Linked DNA regions of Homo sapiens: region 1 is linked to region 2. Evidence: promoter capture Hi-C in 16 types of primary human blood cells and fetal thymus (Javierre and others, 2016). All regions are on one chromosome and are shown on one strand. Each heading gives the region's core, a stretch centred on a gene start or on the middle of the fragment in contact. The rest is flanking DNA. Distances are from core to core; before and after follow the strand shown.

Region 1 (3,356 bases), core at 617-3,116, 210 kb before region 2:
CAAATGGACAAAACAGTGCCCAGCCCTGGGACTCCTGTGGCCCAGGCCCTGCTCTGCACCCTGAGGGTTGAGATCCCCTTCTCAGCAGGCTACTTCTTCCCAGGACAAGTGACATCTTTGTACAAATTAGAAAAAAACGCTTCTTTAAGACACCTTCTGGAAATCTGTGATCTGCCAGGCAGTTGATGTAATGAGTCTGCGTGTCTTTCATGATTGACACTCAGAGTTGTGCCCTGCACAGCCATTTACGGGGCCGAGTTCAACACACCTGTGGCCCATTGGAGGACACTACTAGGTAGGAGGCTGACAGCCTGGGCTGCTGAGGAGAGGACAGCGAGGGAGATGTTCCTGCTGTGTGCTGGGTGTGAGATTCCCAGGTTTCTGCCATAGTGACAGATCCAGTGGTGTGAGTCACTGAAATAGGGGTGCAGGGAGAACAGCAGCAGGGAGGTAAGGTGCAAGCATGGGGTTCAGGAGAGACACCTGGGCTGGAGGTACACATTCAGGTGTCATCACATAGACATGTCCTCAAAGCTGTGGAGGTGAGTGTGGAGGGGAAACCCCATGGAGAAGAACTAAGGGAATGAGCCCCCACCAGACCACCCAGCCTCACCTGCTGAGGTGGGGCCTGATACTCAAGTAGGACACGGAAATGAGGCCCTGGTAGGAGAGAAATCTGAGCACTGTGGTATCCTGTCCCGTGGGCACTGTCCCAACATGATCACACTGTCCTGAGAATAGCATCTGCCTGCTCTAGAGGATCCCTGGCAAAGACCTCTGGCTGTGACACCTGAACCCCAGAGCACCGTGGCCTGAGTATCTGTACCCTCAGGTGCTGGAGTTTCTGCACCCAGTACTCATCCTGAGTCACTGCCAGTGAGTGCTGTCCGGGAGGGATGGCGTCTATATATCTCTGTGTCCCTAGGGTCAAGCGTTAGATTTTTGAAGGATTCTTATGAGAGTAGACACTGGGACTTTGATGAGTGTGTAATGCGGCTCGGGCAATGCTGCCTGCTTTTAGTCCCTAGTTAGCTCTGGGCCATTTGCTGCCCAGGTGTTCTCCATGATCCTGCTCCGAGCTGCTCCTCGGAGTAGATGGTCCAGCTGAGGAGCAGGCTGACCCAGTCCTGCAGGGCTCTAGTCTCAGCAGCAGTCTCGCCCCTAAACTATAAGGATTTGGGGCCCCCACACCTGTCTTAGACCAGATGAGGTTGATTTCACTTTTGCCCTTGACATTGTGGGAAATAATAGAGATGAGTTTTGCCTTGCTGGGCACATGTGATATAATTTTAAAGCCAAATAATCTAGTTTAGCAAGTATTTTGGGCCTACTGTGTGCATAGGCCTGCAGCATATGAAAGGCTGGTGGGAGGCACACTGTTTCCAAGTGTTTACAGCAAGCTCACCATGGCTGTAGAACAATGGGTTTATTCTTCTTAACTAGTTTTCCTTCCTTGAAGACTTCCCTTAAATGCCTCAATCTCATAATATTCTAAACACGTAACTTCTCCCTCTCACATACACTGGGGTTTGCTGCTGTCCCCACGGGGGCGGATCTTCCCCGCTTGCACCTTCCTGCATGTGTCTTTGGTATCATGTGCCATGTCCTTGGGTGCGAAGGAAAGGGCTGTTCCAGCAGTTCCCCCTGGGGCCCTGGGAGAGGAGGGACAGGTGCCTGTGCTATTTCCCCAAGATAAAGGGCAGCTGTTCTGCTCTCAGCCTGCTCTAGCTGGTAACATACCTTCACTTGTGGCTGGGATCCTATCAATTCTTGAGGCCACCTTGGTGATATCCTGCAGATTAGAAAACCGTTTGGCGGTTATATGTGACTTCTTAGAGCAATGAAGAAATGAGGAAATAAATTACTTTTTCATAAATTCTGCCTAGAAGGGCAAACTCTTTCAATAATGGGATTTATAGGGAAAATGCAAATCAGAAATGGGTACTTCTTGTTCAGTGGGTTAACTGTGAGTTAGAAAAAAACAAAAATTGTAAAATGAGGGCTCTGGGCCGGGCACGGTGGCTCACACCTGTAATCCCAGCACTTTGAGAGGCCGAGGCAGGCGAATCACAAGGTCAAGAGATCGAGGCCATCCTGGCCAACATGGTGAAACCCCGTCTCTACTAAAAATACAAAAATTAGCTGGACATTGTGGCGTGCGCCTGTAATCCCAGCTACTCGGGAGGTTGAGGCAGGATAATCACTTGAACCCAGGGGGTGGAGGTTGCAGTAACCCGAGATCGCGCCATTGCACTCCAGTCTGGCAACAGAGTGAGACTCTGTCTCAAAAAAAAAAAAATGAGGGCTCTGGCTCTTTCCAGAGCAGCCCATACTTTGGGCCAAGCAGCTGGCAACTCAGGGCTCAGCTCTCTTAGTGCCAAGTCCCCATCCAGCTTGTGTCATCTTTGTCCCTTTGCCATCTAAAGCTCTTGAGAGTACTTAACCTCTCCCCCTCTGCCGACCCTGGTGTTTGGAGCACCCTCACACCTGTTCTGTTTGGTCCAGCGGGGTCTGCACTTGACCTTTAGATTGGGAAGCAAGAGACACTGGCCTCTCTCTTGCCTGGATAAGACTTCTCATTGCAGCAAGGCTGTCCTCACGTCACATGCATGCAATAGACCTATTCTCAATCCTGTCGGAAGACCCTTGCTTTAGGGTCACTGTTTTGTACCTCATCCCATGTACACACAGGTGCTCAGACAGACAGGTACCAATCTCCCTGGATTCTGAGGCCATGGCTGTCTTGTTTCCTGGGATATTCTTGGCACCCAGCACAGCTCTCCTTTATAGTTGTGGATTAAATATTTGTTAAGTTAATATATATTTGTACACATATTTATAAGAATGGGAGCAGAGGATGGTGCTGTTTAGCAACTCGCTCTTTTCACTCCACGCTCCGAGTGTTGGCTGAATATTTTTGGAATTCTGGAACCCATGAATTCTTTGTTTCCCCCCATTATTTTGTTTCCTCTGAGGCAAGAAGTTTCAAGTGACACTCAAGTCCTTCAAGGTCTGGCTAATTCTATTTGGTAGGGAAGGGGACAGAAAGTTGTAGCTAGGCTGGGACTCAGCAACACTGGGTGGTCTCTTTATTTTGTAACAGTGAAGTATAGAATCAATCAGAATACATAAAGAAAAGAAGACCATCTTTCCATGTGAGCAAATATTTACTTATAATTTTGAAAGGCCAAGTGGTACTTTTCGCACGGATATATCATACTTAATTTAACCAATCCTCAACTTTGGGGCATTTAGTTTATTTACAGGTTTATTTTTGTTTGTTTGTTTTTGTTTTTAATAAGCAGCTCTTCAGTGACTATCCTTTGGCATAAGTATCTTTGTATATCCTTATTTAT
Region 2 (3,315 bases), core at 416-2,915:
GTTTGGGCACTCAGGGTCCCTGAGGTCTCAGGAAATGGGGGTGCGGGATCACAGGGCATAGGACCTAAGCCTGGCTCTGATCCGCACCCCTCTGGCGATCCCCGCAGGCAAGAACTCAGGAGGCTGTGGGCTCCTGGGAAGTTTCTGGGCTCCTGGAAAGGCATCGTATCCAAACAGGGGCAGCGCCCGCTGCTGCGCTCCTGCTGGCGCGTGCTGCGCAGAGTGAGCGAAGCGACGGACGCGGACCCACCATCCTATCACTCCATGCGCAGCAACTGTGTGCACTTTGCACTGTGTCTGCTCGTCCCAGGTCCCAGCCTGGACCCCCGGCAAATAGACGGGAGCTCCAGCAGGTCGGTGAGCGTGGCCCAGCTACCTGCACAGGACCCATCCCACCTCCTGAGCAGACTAGCCAAAGCGCCTTATAAACGCGCAACTGCAAAATCCAGGCCCTTCTCTTCCCACTCCCCACCCAGGCCAGTTTTCTCCAAATTCAAGATCCACTTTTCTCTGGCAGGCACAAAGCCACCGGAACCAAGCGGACCCACCCACTTGTCTAGGTTATCCCAACAGAACCTTCTCATTACCCCAATAGAACCTTACCCCAGTAGAATTACCCCCAATAGAACTTTTCTACTGAGCCAAGCTCCACCTTTCTGGGCCCCACTCCTTCCCAGGTAGGCCCGCCAATTCTGCCCATGGAGACTTCGGGATGCTAGTTACAGACCAAGACTCAGGCCTTAGGAACTCCTCCAGTCCCCATGCCCAGCTAAAAGACTCCAGCCACCTCAACTGATGCCCAACTGGATCCTACCTCTTCCCCCAGCCCAATTCACTACTTTCCATCGGATCCAAGCCTTCCTTCCTTGGGCCTAGGGGTCACTCGGGCTCGGGAGCTGAACTGGAGGGCTCACATGACTCAGGAGCCCTGGTGGTCACACCAGACCCTTCTCTTCCTTTTCAGGTGTCAATGGACGTGGACGTGTCCCCGGATTAAGCATGACCTTGGCCCTCCTGGGTGGACGTGGAGGCTTCAGAAAGATTCATTAAACTACTTTCCAAAGCTTAATTAGATGTTCACCGTCCTCTGTATCCTGTTTCCCATCTCTCTAAGCCCCCAAGGGCTCCTCGGAGCTCCCTGACCTTAATTCCTTAAATTCCGCCACCTCCAGGAAGCTCCTCGGCTTCCTGCTGCCAAGCCAGATTTTGTAGGAAAGGTGGGGCGGGAAAGGGAGCGTCCTTAGGTATCTGAGGCCGGTCCTCGGGTGCGGTGACCCCTTCCCGCTCTAGAACCCCCAGCCTGCGGGCACAGCCTTCTTTCCAGTTCCCGCTTTCCCTCCACGGCGTGGGTGAGCATCCGCGCGTGCGTCTGGGGAGAGCGGAGCCCCAGAGGCCCGTCCCGCCGAGGCCAGGTGGTCGGGGGTGGGGGCAGCTATTCCACATCCCCTGCAAGACGGTCCCAGCGTCCGTCCAGCAGACTCGCCCACCTTTAGATCTGGAGACGAGCCAAGTCGCTTTAAAGGGCAGAAGACGCCCTGAAGAGGGCATTTCCTAGGGATGGGCGGGGCCAGGCCCTGACGCACCGCCCCTGTCGCCTCCTCGCGGACACGCCCTCCGCTCGGCTGGCGCCGGTGCCTTTAAGACCTCAGCGCGCGGCCCTGATTGAGAAATCCGCGCGCAGCCTCCGCCGCTGCACACTGCAGCCTCTGCTGAACCCCTGCCGCGCCGCCGCCTTCGCCAGCCCGGACCGGACCGGCCCGCCTTCCCTTCCTCCGCTCCAGCCGGCCTCCGGCCCCGCAACCTCCTCCTCGGCGAAGTCTCCCTGGCCGCCCCATGTCGGCCGCCCCCGCCTACAGCGAAGACAAGGGCGGCTCCGCTGGCCCCGGGGAGCCCGAGTACGGCCACGACCCCGCGAGCGGCGGCATCTTCTCCTCCGACTACAAGCGGTGAGGGAGCCCGCCAGGAAGCTCGCGGGAGGGTTGGGGCCGGGGACCGGGCGAGGCGCGCGGGCACCATGGACAGCGCCCGGCCCCAGCGCCGGCCCCGCCCCGGCCGCGCCGACCGGAAGCCCGCCCGGCCCCCTCCTGCGGCCTGGAGCCCCGGCCCAGCGCGGGCAGCGCTGGCACCCCGGCTCCAGGGGCCGGCCTAGGACGCGGAGGGGGGCAGATAGGGGCTGGCGGGGGATGGGCCAGCTCAGTTTCGAGAGGAGAAACCCTCCGGTTCCAGGTGTTTCTCCGGTTTGCGGCGTTGCGTTAGGGGTTCCCTTCCTTTTTCGTGCTAGGCGGGTTGGCTTCCCAAAAATGTGGGGGAGGGGTCTGAGTCAGCGAACTTGAGCTTGAGCCTGGGGCCTCTTCAGGAAGGCGGGCCCTGGATGTACTTGCACAGCCTCCCAGCTTGGCCCTGCTGCAAATTCATTTCCCCTCCCTCTGGTCCCCATCTCCATCTGACCCTCACATCCCTGCTCCTGGCATTGCCCCTGTAGTTCAGCTCCACCTTCACACCCTCCCCCACCTTTGATTCGTTCGTTTGTTTCTTCATTTGTTTATTCGTAAATTCTGCAACAAGCATTTATGAAAAGCCAACTGTGTCGAGTCCTGAACTAGTCACGGAATACAACTGTGAACATGAGACCCTTCTTGTCCTCACGATGCTCTAGAGGGGAGCACAGATGAAGAAGCAGTCAGGGACAGTCGAGTGTAATGGGGGCAGTGGGAGCAGGGAGAGGACCTAGTCTCTGGCGCCGGAGAGAAGGAAGACAGGAGCGTGAGGTATGTTCCAGGCAGAGGAAAGGGCTTTCAGGAAGGTTGAGAGCCAGGCCACAATCTGTGTGAGCCACTGGACTGACCAGAAAAGAGGGTGGGGAGGACTCCTGAAGGATTCTAAGCAGGCGACATAATCAGATTTATATTTTAGAAGGACGTCAGGCTGCTGCATTGTGGAGAAGAGATTGGAGGTGGGCCAGATTGAACAAGAGACAAGGGAGGTGGGTCTTGAAGTTCACAGGCCTGGCATGATTGTGGCCTAGACCAGGGGAGAGGCAGAAGATTTGAGGCTGTGGAAGAGGTGGAAGCCTCAGACCTGATGATTAATTGGATATTGGGTGGGGGTTTAGAGGGACAGGGGGAGAAGATGAGGATTTTCACGCACGTCCATGTGAAGAGACCACCAAACAGGCTTTGAACAATAAAGCTTTTTAATCACTTGGGTGCAGGCCAGCTGAGTCCGAAAAAAGAGTCAGCGAAGGGAAATGGGGTGGGACCGTTTTACAGGATTTGGGTAGGTAGTGGAAAATTACAGTCAAAGGGGGTTGTTCTC

What was found. Contacts are between HindIII fragments. The CHiCAGO score rates a contact against its expected background, and 5 or more counts as called.
Region 1: a fragment that was not itself captured here is called in contact with the fragment with the promoter of AP3B2 in region 2 in 2 of 17 cell types (non-activated CD4 T cells and naive CD4 T cells); the score reaches 5.2 in non-activated CD4 T cells.

What each region holds. Positions count from the first base shown.
Region 1 is chr15:82,915,751-82,919,106 of GRCh38, reverse strand. All of the region lies in intron 1 of HOMER2 (homer scaffold protein 2), which reads left to right. It overlaps LOC105370928 (a long non-coding RNA gene), which reads right to left. Exons shown (of 5, transcript XR_007064741.1): 3 at 1,741-1,792. Among named protein-coding and RNA genes, the nearest start is that of HOMER2, 35 kb to the left of the region's middle. The HindIII fragment of the contact is 5,158 bases long and covers 1-3,356 here.
Region 2 is chr15:82,708,225-82,711,539 of GRCh38, reverse strand. It overlaps AP3B2 (adaptor related protein complex 3 subunit beta 2), which reads left to right and starts at 1,665. Exons shown (of 27, transcript NM_001278512.2): 1 at 1,665-1,946. The coding sequence starts at 1,834. It also overlaps the pseudogene LOC338963. RefSeq lists silencers at 1,612-1,661, 1,882-2,141. The HindIII fragment of the contact is 2,125 bases long and covers 1,067-3,191 here.